4 separate regions of the Homo sapiens genome follow, and regions 2, 3 and 4 are each linked to region 1. Evidence: promoter capture Hi-C in human tissues and cell types (Jung and others, 2019). All regions are on one chromosome and are shown on one strand. Each heading gives the region's core, a stretch centred on a gene start or on the middle of the fragment in contact. The rest is flanking DNA. Distances are from core to core; before and after follow the strand shown. Region 1 holds the start of C8orf76 (chromosome 8 open reading frame 76). Region 2 overlaps TBC1D31 (TBC1 domain family member 31). Region 3 overlaps ATAD2 (ATPase family AAA domain containing 2). Region 4 overlaps LOC124902013 (a long non-coding RNA gene).

What was found. The method cuts DNA at HindIII sites, captures the fragments that hold promoters and counts their contacts. A contact is called where the count stands out against the background at its distance.
Region 2: a contact is called between a fragment that was not itself captured here and the fragment with the promoter of C8orf76 in region 1, in 3 of the 25 tissues and cell types used here (aorta, dorsolateral prefrontal cortex and mesendoderm cells).
Region 3: a fragment that was not itself captured here is called in contact with the fragment with the promoter of C8orf76 in region 1 in 1 of the 25 tissues and cell types used here (adrenal gland).
Region 4: a contact is called between a fragment that was not itself captured here and the fragment with the promoter of C8orf76 in region 1, in 3 of the 25 tissues and cell types used here (aorta, bladder and hippocampus).

What each region holds. Positions count from the first base shown.
Region 1 is chr8:123,240,045-123,242,744 of GRCh38, forward strand. C8orf76 (chromosome 8 open reading frame 76) reads right to left here and starts at 1,333. Exons shown (of 6, transcript NM_032847.3): 1 at 1,186-1,333. The coding sequence starts at 1,302. All of the region lies in intron 2 of ZHX1-C8orf76 (ZHX1-C8orf76 readthrough), which reads right to left. RefSeq lists an enhancer at 1,119-1,619 and a silencer at 1,120-1,239. The HindIII fragment of the contact is 18,562 bases long and covers 1-2,700 here.
Region 2 is chr8:123,081,886-123,084,713 of GRCh38, forward strand. It overlaps TBC1D31 (TBC1 domain family member 31), which reads left to right. Exons shown (of 22, transcript NM_145647.4): 3 at 817-932; 4 at 2,277-2,455. Among named protein-coding and RNA genes, the nearest start is that of TBC1D31, 11 kb to the left of the region's middle. RefSeq lists a silencer at 1,124-1,418. The HindIII fragment of the contact is 4,593 bases long and covers 1-2,828 here.
Region 3 is chr8:123,382,359-123,385,237 of GRCh38, forward strand. The region is part of intron 1 of ATAD2 (ATPase family AAA domain containing 2); the gene reads right to left. Among named protein-coding and RNA genes, the nearest start is that of ATAD2, 13 kb to the right of the region's middle. The HindIII fragment of the contact is 6,595 bases long and covers 1-2,879 here.
Region 4 is chr8:123,009,654-123,012,353 of GRCh38, forward strand. All of the region lies in intron 1 of LOC124902013 (a long non-coding RNA gene), which reads left to right. Among named protein-coding and RNA genes, the nearest start is that of DERL1, 31 kb to the right of the region's middle. The HindIII fragment of the contact is 7,383 bases long and covers 1-2,700 here.

The DNA of each region.
Region 1 (2,700 bases), core at 83-2,582:
TGCACCTGTACAGCACATCAGATCTGACAAAGTATTTTCATATACATTATCTCATTTCACTCCCACGATAACTCTGTGAGCCAGCATGTATTATTTTTCTGAAGGGACAAATAAGGAGCTGACACCTTCAAGGCAAGTGGTTAAAGCCAACACTGGAATTCAAGAGTCCTATCTCATAACCAGAGTTTTTTTAATGTTCTGCCACATGATTTCCAAGCCCAATCCCTGTTTTGAGTCTACATGATCCAGGGCTGAAGGTAACTTTGAAAGATCGTATGTGATAAGGAGAAAATGCAACTGAAATAACCAAAAACACAATTCAGTAATTATCGAGTGCCTGGCATCTTGTCAGTACAATTGTGAGGAACGAATGAGACAGTATATGCGAAGGAACCCACCACAGTGCCCGGAACACTTCCGTATTTTCCATAAATATTAGTTTTGACTGATGAACTATTTACACTCATGAAAGAATAGGAAGTAATACTCTACTAATTCAAAAATATTCGCGGAGTCACTATTATTAATAAAAACTGTTAGGCACTGCCAAGGGCATCAAGAACCCATGCTGGTGCGATCATTTAGCACTCCGGGTCTCAGGACTTTGTGGGAATACTGACAAGTGCTTTAAGTAGAAGCTAAATAGAGGGAAGGGGGCCAAAGACAAAAATATTTGGCTGGAAGACGAAATCAGAAAAGACTTCCTAGAGGAGATGACATTTAAGATGTGCCTTGAAAAACGGATATAACTGAAGGACTTTAACCATCAGCGCGGGGTTGGTACGGGCAGGGGGAGCTCGCCGAAGAGGGAGGGGAGAGTGGGTTTGCCGGAGGTCACCGTTTTGGGAGGCCTGACTGCCCAGCTGTAAGAGCAGTGAAGACAAACGGGAGGTACCGGAGATTGCAGGGCAGGGGCGTTGAGACCAGCCGGCAGCAGCCAGGCCGGCCAAATGCCAAGTGGGAGTCAAGCCGCTTACAACGCGGGGATTCTCGCCCATGGACCCGGAATGGGGCCTGGGAAAGCCGCTTCCCCGTGGAGGAGGAGGGACGGCGGGGGACGCGGCGGGCGCTGGAGCCTGCCAGGGTTTGCGTTCGCGCGGACGGAGGGGCCGAGGCCGGGGCCGGGGCCCCGCGGAGGGCGAGGCCTGGGGCCCGGGATAAGGCGAAGAGGCCCCAGCTTCTCACCTGCGGCTCGCAGAGCTTGGCGCAGTAGGACGCGGGCGGTCCTGACCGCCGCTCCGGCCTCTCCTCGAACACCGAGTCCTCGAACTCGCCGCCGAACAACCAGCACCCGGAATCCATCTCGCGCCCGCGGCGGGGGCAACGAGGAAGCGGGGCCCGCCGGAAAAGGCGGGGCTTCCACGGCCCAGAGCGCGGCACGCTGGGACTTGTAGTCTTTGAGGGCGACGCGGGGACGTGGCCGCTGCTGGTTGGGAGTAGTGGTTGAGCTGAGATGATTATCTGACCCACTAACTGACCGAACCCCAGGACGGAGGTTTTGACTTCTCTGTGTCAGGAGATGGACAGAATGATCCTTACCTGCACGCATCAAAAAGCACGCTGGCCCCAGAGTAGCTGTTTAAAACTCGCAGGTACCTTTTTAAAAATTAAAATAAGAGGCCGGGCGCGGTGGCTCAAGCCTGTAATCCCAGCACTTTGGGAGGCCAAGGTGGGCGGATCACTTGAGGTCGGGAGTTCGAGACCAGCCTGACCAACATTGAGTAACCAGGTCTGTACTGAAAATACAAAAATTAGCCGGCCGTAGTGGCGCGCGCCTGTAATCCCAGCTACTCGGTAGGCTGAGGCAGGAGAATCGCTTGAACCCGGGAGGCGGAGGTTGCGGTGAGCCAAGATCGCATCATTGCACTCCAGCCTAGGCAACAAGAGTGAAACTTCGTCTCAAAATAAAAAATAAAATAAAATAAAATAAATAAAATAATTTCGAGACAGGGTCTCGCTCTGTCGCCCAGGTTGGAGTGCAGTGGTGAGATCATGGCTCACTGCAGCCTCGAACTCCCAGACTCAACCTATCATCCCGCCTCAGTCCCCCAAGTAGCTGGGGCTACAGGCGCGCGCCACCATGACCGTCTAACTTGTGTATTTTTTGTGGAGACTGGGTTTCCCTACGTTGCCCAGGCTGGTCTCGAACCTGATCTCAAGCGATCCGCCCACCTCGTTCTCCCAAAGTGCTGGGATTATAGGCGTGAGCCACTAAGCCCGGTGCAAGTACCAATTGTCAACCACTGTGCATTCCCGTCACTGTGTTAAGCACATTTTTTCTTTTCGGCTAACAACCACCTTATGAAAGCCAAAGTGATTCCCATTTTGCAAATCCTATTTTGAAGATATTGGAGTTTGGAGAGGTTAAGTAACTTGTTAAGTTTCGGTCATTATGTGGCTGAAACTTGGGAAATACAGAAATGAATGCGTACTCTCCGTGCTTCCGGACAAGAGACACTACCACCAATAACAAAGACCGGAGTCATTCACGCATTTATGAAAGAAAAGACACAGAAATATACCGTGGGAGGCTAGATCAGGGAGCATTCATTCGACCTGGAGAACACCAAATCTCAAAATTCTAAGACTAACATTTACTACAATTCTTATACTTTTAAGATATTTCTTGACTCTAGAAAGTAAAGATTGTTGACAAAATGCTGGCCAATACTGTACAGCACAATATTGTGCCATATTACA
Region 2 (2,828 bases), core at 132-2,631, 160 kb before region 1:
TGTGGGAATTATGGGAGCCACAATTCAAGATGAGATTTGGGTGGGGACAGAGCCAAAGCGTATCATATATTATCAAGATTAATTTTACCTGTTTCTTCTTACTTTTCTAATATGGCTCCTAGAAAAATTTAAATTACGTATGTAGCCCACGTTGTATTTCTTTCAGACAGCATGACTCTAGATGAGTTTCACAAGGGCCTTAAACAACATGTTTAAAAGCAGGTTTATTATTTCCTACCCCCAAACTTATTCCTCTTTTGCCTAAGTTCAAAAGCTTAATTTTTTGTAAATTAAACTCCAGCTAGGTGCCCAGTACTCTACTGAGCACTCAACATGTATTCTTTCATTTAGTCATCACAACAGCCCTGTATCTATTCTTATCTTCATTTTACGCAAGATCGGGTCCTGATTCCCTCTTCTTCACTCCATGTTGAATCCATACCGAACCTCTGCTTGGCTTCTGAAACCTCTCCTATTTATGCTCCCATATCTCTGGCTGAGATTTTCTGTAGTAACTTTCTTAGTGATCTCCTTTATTCCTTGTCCCTCTATCCATTTGCCATTGCTGCCAGGATCGTCTTCCTAAAACACATACCTGATTGTGATTCTGCTGTGCTAACACTTACAGTGGTTTCCTATTCTGATAACATCCAAACTCCTTAATATGGCACATAGCACCCTTCATAATCTATTTTTGGCCTAAAATGGTAGCTCATTTTTCTGGGTTTCATTTTCTTCGTCTCTACGGACTCCTTCCACATGGAATTTGTAATTATTGGAAGAATTTGTGATACTAATGCAATGATCTCTTAATAGGTTCAATCTTGTTCAGCGAACAGCACAAGCTTGCACAGCTCTGGCCTTTAATCTTCGTAGGAAATCTGAATTCCTTGTGGCATTAGCTGATTATTCTATTAAATGTTTTGATACAGGTAAGAAGTTCTCCTATTTTTCTTTTGAAGCAGAGTAAAATATAAACTGAAGAACTGCAAGAACTTTATCACTCTGTACAGCTTGAGGGGGCAGTCCCCATGACAGCCCTCCCTTCAGACACTAGGTGCAAGCTGAGGGTCCTAGAAACAGCCTCACTTTAGATCAGTTGACTACAAAGTCAGGGTTTCCTGACTACTGTCAGGTTTGATAATTTACTAGAACAACTCACAGAACTCAGGAAAGCACTACACTTAATGACAGTTTTAATATAACAAAAGGATACAAAGTATAACTAGCCAAAGGAAGAGAAACATGGGGTGGAATTTGGGAGGCTTCCAAAAGGGAAGCCTCCATTGTCCTCAGGGATGCATTGCCCTCTCAGATGACACTCCCAGCATTGGTGTGTGGCTGGCCATCTGCGCCAAGCACTGTTGACGCAGGGAGTCGACCCAAGCTTTGGTGTTTTTGGTGTTTTCCCTACCAAGCTGTTTTCTCTGCTTACAAAGATACACACAAGTACATCAGAATCAAGTTTAAAAACCAAATGTATTATCAGTATCTCACACTGATAAACCTGTTCCTCCTCATGTATTTATTATTTTTTTTTATTTTTTATTTTTTTAGAGATAGGGTTTTGTCATGTTGCCCAGGTTGGTCTCGAACTTCTAGGCTGAAGTGATTCACCTGCCTCAGCCTCCCAAAGTGCTGAGATTACAGGCGTGAGCCACCGCCCGGCCCCTCCTCATGTATTTCCTACCTCCGCTAACAGTATCACCATCTGCTTAAATAACTAAGCTGGAACCACTGGAGCCTTCACTTCTCTTATATCTCAGGACATCAATTTGATCACTAATATTTTTTGTTTTTCTCCTTAGTAGCTCTTGGATTTGTTCTTTTCTCCATTGCCTCTTTCTTAGTTGAGGCCCTCCATATCTCCTGTCTGAATTATTACAGCAACATATAAATTAGTCTTTCTTGTTCAATCTCTTCCCCTCCACCAGATATCCTCAAAGTGCTCTTTCTAAAACATAGACTAGATATGGTACTCTTTTACATAAAATTACCTGCAAGAGAAAGCCCAAACTCACTAGCATCAATTTTGAAGTTATTCTTCATCAAAGCCTTTGTCAGCCTTGTCTCCTACATGAATGAGATGTTGCTAACATGTTCCGTCATACACTTTATCAACTAGCCACAAGCTTCCATTTTTGTGGATATTAATGGAGGTGCCTCATATAATACCTAACCACCCATTGCATCAGTTCATCTATGGTGTTTATATGTAATGTTACTTCTAGACGTACAGTGTTTTACCTGGGTAACAATTTTACTTTTTACCACAGTCACCAAGGAGCTAGTTAGCTGGATGAGAGGACATGAATCATCAGTATTTTCGATCTCTGTGCATGCATCAGGGAAATATGCCATCACAACTTCTTCTGATACAGCACAATTATGGGACTTGGATACCTTTCAGAGAAAAAGAAAGCTGAATATTCGCCAGTCTGTGGGTATACAGAAGGTCAGTGAGGGGGTACATCTTGGTCTGTTGTGCTTCTCGGGCTAATTTCTTGGTCAACAGGATGTATAGATGATATAAGAGTAATGATTCACTTTGTCCTTGTAGCTCTGTAACTCAGCAACAAGCAAAGCAAAGTGGCCAACACAAAGATGTTGCCTATAGCTACAATTTATAACTTAGTGAGCTCTTTTCTAAAATTATAGCTATGTAACTTCAACTGTCCTAAGGCGAAAGTTATTTAGTTGATTGCTTTTGTTTTCATTTTTAACCCTCTGACATTTTATTATGAAAAATTTGAAACATGCAGTAGATTTGTGAGAATTTTTGAACACGTGTACATTCAGTATCTAGATTCTACCATTAACATGTTACT
Region 3 (2,879 bases), core at 326-2,825, 140 kb after region 1:
TGTAAGATTTGTCACCATCTTTATCAATGTACCTATATTTGAGGATGTTTGAAAAAAGAATACTTACACCTTGGGTGGTGTATTATTTTTAAGACAAATATTTACATCTTAGATCAGTGTAGTGTATAAGACTTTCATTTTCCAAGGAATATTTAAATGGAATCTGTTTCCAAATTATCAACTTTCATATGTACTTTTTCTTAAAACTGATCAGCCTGAAAAGGCACAAGCCATCCCATTCATTTGCCCTTCTCCATTTTAAAAAAGAAAGTTCTAAAACCACAATGAGATACCAGCTCACACCAGTTAGAATGGTGATCATTAAAAAGTCAAGAAACAACAGATGCTGGAGAGGAGGTGGAGAAATAGGCACAATTTTACACAGTTAGGAGTGTAAATTAGTTCAACCATTGTGGAAGACAGTGTGGCGATTCCTCAAGGATCTAGAACCAGAAATACCATTTGACCCAGCAATCCCATTATTGTGTATATACCCAAGGGATTATAAATCATTCTACTATAAAAACACATGCACACACATGTTCACTGCAGCACTATTTGCAATAACAAAGACTTGGAACCAACCCAAATGCCCATCAATGATAGACTGGATAAAGAAAATGTGGCACATATATACCATAGAAATACTATGCAGCCATAAAAAGGATGAGTTCATGTCATTTGCAGGGACATGGATGAAGCTGGAAGCCATCATTCTCAGCAAACTAACACAGGAACAGAAAACCAAACACTGCATGTTCTCACTCATAAGTGGGAGTTGAACAATGAGAACACATGGACACAGAGAGGGGAACACCATACACCAGGGCCTTTCGGGGAGTGGGGGGCATGAGGAGGGATAGCATTAGGAGAAATACCTAACGTAGATGACAGGTTGATGGGTGCAGCAAACCACCATGGCACATATATACCTATGTAACAAACCTGCACATTCTGCACATGTATCCCAGAACTTAAAATATAATTTTAAAAGTAAACAAAATTAAATAAAAAAAAAAAGTTCTATCTCTCACCCATTCTGAATTTCACTATTGCAGACACTTCAAGGTATTAAAAACTTTCATAAAGCCAAAGAAAAACACTGGTGTAGGTGTTAAGAAATTGAATGACAGCCGGGCATGGTGGCTCATGCCTGTAATCCCAGGACTTTGGGAGGCCGAGGCTGGCGGATCACCTGAGATTGGGAGTTCGAGACCAGCCTGACCAACATGGAGAAACCCTGTCTCTACTAAAAATACAAAAAATCAGCCGGGCGAGGTGGCGCATGCCTGTAATCCCAGCAACTTGGGAGGCTGAGGCAGGAGAATCACTAGAACCCAGGAGGCGGAGGTTGCGGTGAGCCGGGATCGTGCCATTGCACTCCAGCCTGGGCAATAAGAGCAAAATTCAGTCTCAAAAAAAAAAAAAGAAACTGAATGACTAGGCCAGGCGTGGTAGCTCACGCCTGTAATCCCAACACTTTGGGAGGCTGAGGCGAGGGGCTCATGAGGTCAAGAGATAGAGACCATTGTGGCTAACATGGTGAAATCACGTCTTTACTAAAAATACAAAATTAGCTGGGTGTGGTAGCACGTGCCTGTAATCCCAGCTACTTGGGAGGCTGAGGCAGGAGAATTGCTCGAACCTGGGAGGCAGAGGTTGCAGTGAGCTGAGATCATGCCACTGCACTGCAGCCTGGTGACAGAGCGAGACTCCGTCTCAAAAAAAAAAAAAAAGAAAGAAAGAAAAAAACTGAATGACTAAAGAAAGGCAACAAATACTTTCCCTTATTAGGTGGTTTTCAATTCTCTGCTTTCAATAAAATTGAAAGGAGACCTAATAAAGCTAAAAGAACATTAAAAATCATTTTTGGCAAGTGACTTTTGATGTATAACAAAAAAAAACTGGGTGGCACTGCTAAGCATAACTCCTTTTATTACTGTCTACTTATTTATATGAACAATACTTACATTTATAAAAACAATGCAACCGATACACAAAAACACAGTCTTGATTTTTTGTTTGTTTGTTTTGCTTTAGGAGCTTTTAATGCTTAGACTGAAAAAGATCACAGGGTAGATTTTTCATGGTCATTGATCCATCTCTGACAAGGCAAGAATTTTCCCTTCACTCTGGTCACAGGTAGAAGTCCAGACTCTCCCCTAGCAATGTCTTCAGAATGGAGGGGCTCCCTTTGCAGTGCAGTGCCTCCCCAACCCAGAGGCAAGAAAGCAAGAGTATGTAATAAGCACCCATGTGCCAGGCCCATGCAAGGCATTTTCAAGAGAACACTGTCTTTAGCAATAACTATGATACATCCACAGACACATGAACTAATTGGGTGGGTAAGGGAACTTCAACCATGTGAGATCTCCTAAAATCTTACTTTTCTTGCTCACAAAATTGGAACGATACAAAGATTAGCGAAACAATTTTTTAAAATCTTACTTTCTAAGTTTTATCATTTCAAATCCAAGTAGATAATATGTTCTTGTTTTGATTGACAGAGCATTAATTCTAACAACTCTACCCACAAACATTTTATTTCTTGGCGCTCAGAAGCCCACTAAGGCTCAGACATTTTTCTTAAACTGATTTCATGTCCCATTCAAGTGTTGTCTACAACCTGCATAACCAGTACTTTGTACAACTTGTTTATATTTTAATTGTATATAAACGTTTTTAAAGAAATATGTAATATTTTTATTTAGGTACCTCCAAACTTGAATTCACCTGTGTAAAACATTTTAAAAGGATACAATTCTCTTTTGAGTACCATTACAGCTATACAGGTTTCCACTGGTTCTATTTTTCTACTGTTATTGATGAGCATGCTAACACTGACTGTCTTACATATAGTAGACATTTCAAATAAATGG
Region 4 (2,700 bases), core at 201-2,700, 230 kb before region 1:
ATTAGCAGATTACACAGTGCAGATAGAAGCTGCTTTGCTGCTCATTTATTTTAAGTATTTTAATTTTGAGTCCATTCTTCCCATTATCTCTAACCTGTTCTAATATCCTGTTTCAGGGGATTATGATTCCCTTAGATGAACAACAAAAAAATCATTCAATGCTCCTGGGAGACTTGGCCATTATTAGCTCTCTCCCTAAGCAGGACAAATTCCTACACAGGCCAAATTTCAGTTCAGTGCAAGAAACACTTAAGCACCTGTATGTGGCAGGCCTGTGCTACGCACTGGGAAACAGCTGTAAATAAGATGCAGTCCCTGTCCTGAGGATGGTTACAAGCCATGGGAGGGATATTAAGCAAATGATCACAGGTGGAACAAGCGTCAAAGGCAGAGATCAGGGTGCCAGTGGCTACGTGAGAAGACATTTCACCTTGCCTGCAGGTCTAATAGCCCTCTCCTTGATGAAATGACATTTAAACTGGGCCCTAAATGCTGGTGATAGAATCAAGAGAATTGCTTCTTCTTCACTGGGGCCTTCTGCAAAGCTGTTCACATTTCAGGAAGACATCATATTTTAAAAGTTCATTTTCATTCAAGTTGATGGATTTGGAGCTCAATGTTTTTTCCACAGAAATATACTTACAAATAGTGGCTAGGTTTCCAGGTTAGGATGCCAGCACCTAATTATCTACAATGGCTGCAGCACCAACAGCCAGAAATAGCATTTTACCCAGCTTGTGTGTGAAACACAGATCCCAGCCCTGATCACCAATGGAAACCCCTTCGAGAAAGCCCTCCTTTTCCTCACTGAGTGCCAGCAATTCTCTGTCTGGGGGGAGGTCCCTCCAATCCAGTCCCCAATCCCACTGCCTTGGTTTAAACCAACTCTTCCCTTAAACCTGCATCACAGCAACCAACACAAAATGTGGTCACTATCTCATTTCTCCTCTTTCCAGCCTTCTCCCTCTACTCCCCACGGGGCAGCCAGCTACTTTTTTGTTTTTTTGTTTTGAGAGGAAGTTTCACTCTTGTTGCCCAGGCTGGAGTGCAGTGGTACGATCTCGGCTCACTGCAACCTCCGCCTTCCAGGTTCAAGCGATTCTCCTGCCTCAGCCTCCCGATTAGCTGGGATTACAGGCATCTGCCATCAGGCCCAGCTAATTTTTTGTGTTTTTAGTAGAGATGGGGTTTTGCCATGTTGGCCAGGCTGGTCTCGAACTCCTGATCTCAGGTGATCCACCAGCCTCGGCCTCCCAAAGTGCTGGAATTACAGGTGTGAGACAGCACACCTGGCTGCCAGCTACTTTTTAAAGACCAAACATGAAGGCCTTTCAATGTTCCCCACTGCCCGCAGATTGAAGTTCAAGCAATCACACAAAACGATTTTCCTGATACAAGCCCCAATCTATCTTCCCAACCCCTTTCCCTGCCACTCCCTACCTGTATTCTACAGGTCCAGGCACACGGTTCTCTCTTCCCAAGTTTCTGCTCTTGCTGCTGCTGTTTCTAAATCCACCTAGAACAAGTGGCTTCCTCCATCTTGACCAGAACTGTCCATCAATCTTTCAAGACCTAGCCTCTCATCCAAGAAATTTACTTCCTTTTATTCTGGTAGTTTGGTGAATTGTATTATAATGACTTGTTTGCTTATTAAACAAATATGAGTACCTACAATGGGCCAAGCTGACTGCCTCAGTAGAAAGGACGCATCGTGAAGACAGAGACATCGTCTATTTGCATCTGCTTTGGCTTCCTTCACTGAAAAGCCACAACAGAGTTGGGTTCATATCCTGTCTTTGGCACCTTCTAGCTTTTTTTTTTTTTTTTTTTTGATACGGAGTTTTGTTCTTGTTGCCTAGGCTGGAGTGCAATGGCACAATCTCGGCTCACCGCAACCTCCACCTCCTGGGTTCAAGTCATTCTCCTGCCTCAGCCTCCCGAGTAGCTGGAATTACAGGTATATGCCACCACGCACAGCTAATTTTTGTATTTTTAGTAGAGATGGGGTTTCTCCATGTTGGTCAGGCTGGTCTCGAACTCCCAACCTCAGAAGGTCCACCCACCTCAGCCTCCCAAAGAGCTGGGATTACAGGCGTGAGCCACCGTACCTGGCCGCTGCCTGATTTTAATCAAGGGACTTGAAGCTTAAGTTTCCTCATCTGGAAAATGGGGATAATACTATTTCACAAGTTTGTTTAAACACAAGTTCCCAAATCCAGCTGAACGTCAGAATCAACTTCAAAAGTATGTAGAATGGGAATGAGCCAAGATACCTGCATTTTTTTAAAATCTCAAGTTTAATGCTTATGTATAGCCAGATTTTAAAAACCGTAAATTGGAGGCTTTTTCATAAAGTACCTGGCACATTAATGCTCAGTGCCCAGGTGTGCCCCGAACACGGCGTTCCTACTGGAACAAGCAGAGTTGATGTGAGATAAGGGGACCGTACGGGAAGGAGCCTAGGTTTAAACCACACATATAAATCGTGGGAAAGGCTGGGCACCGTGGCTCAGGCCTGTAATCCCAGCACTTTGAGAGGCCGAGGCAGGTGACTTGCCTGAGCTCAGGAGTTTAAGACCAGCCTGGGCCACATGGTGAAACTCCATCTCGAACAAAAATACAAAAAATTAGCCGAGTGTGGTGGCACACACTTGTGGTCCCAGCTACTCAGGAGGCTGAGGTGGGAGGATCATCTGAACC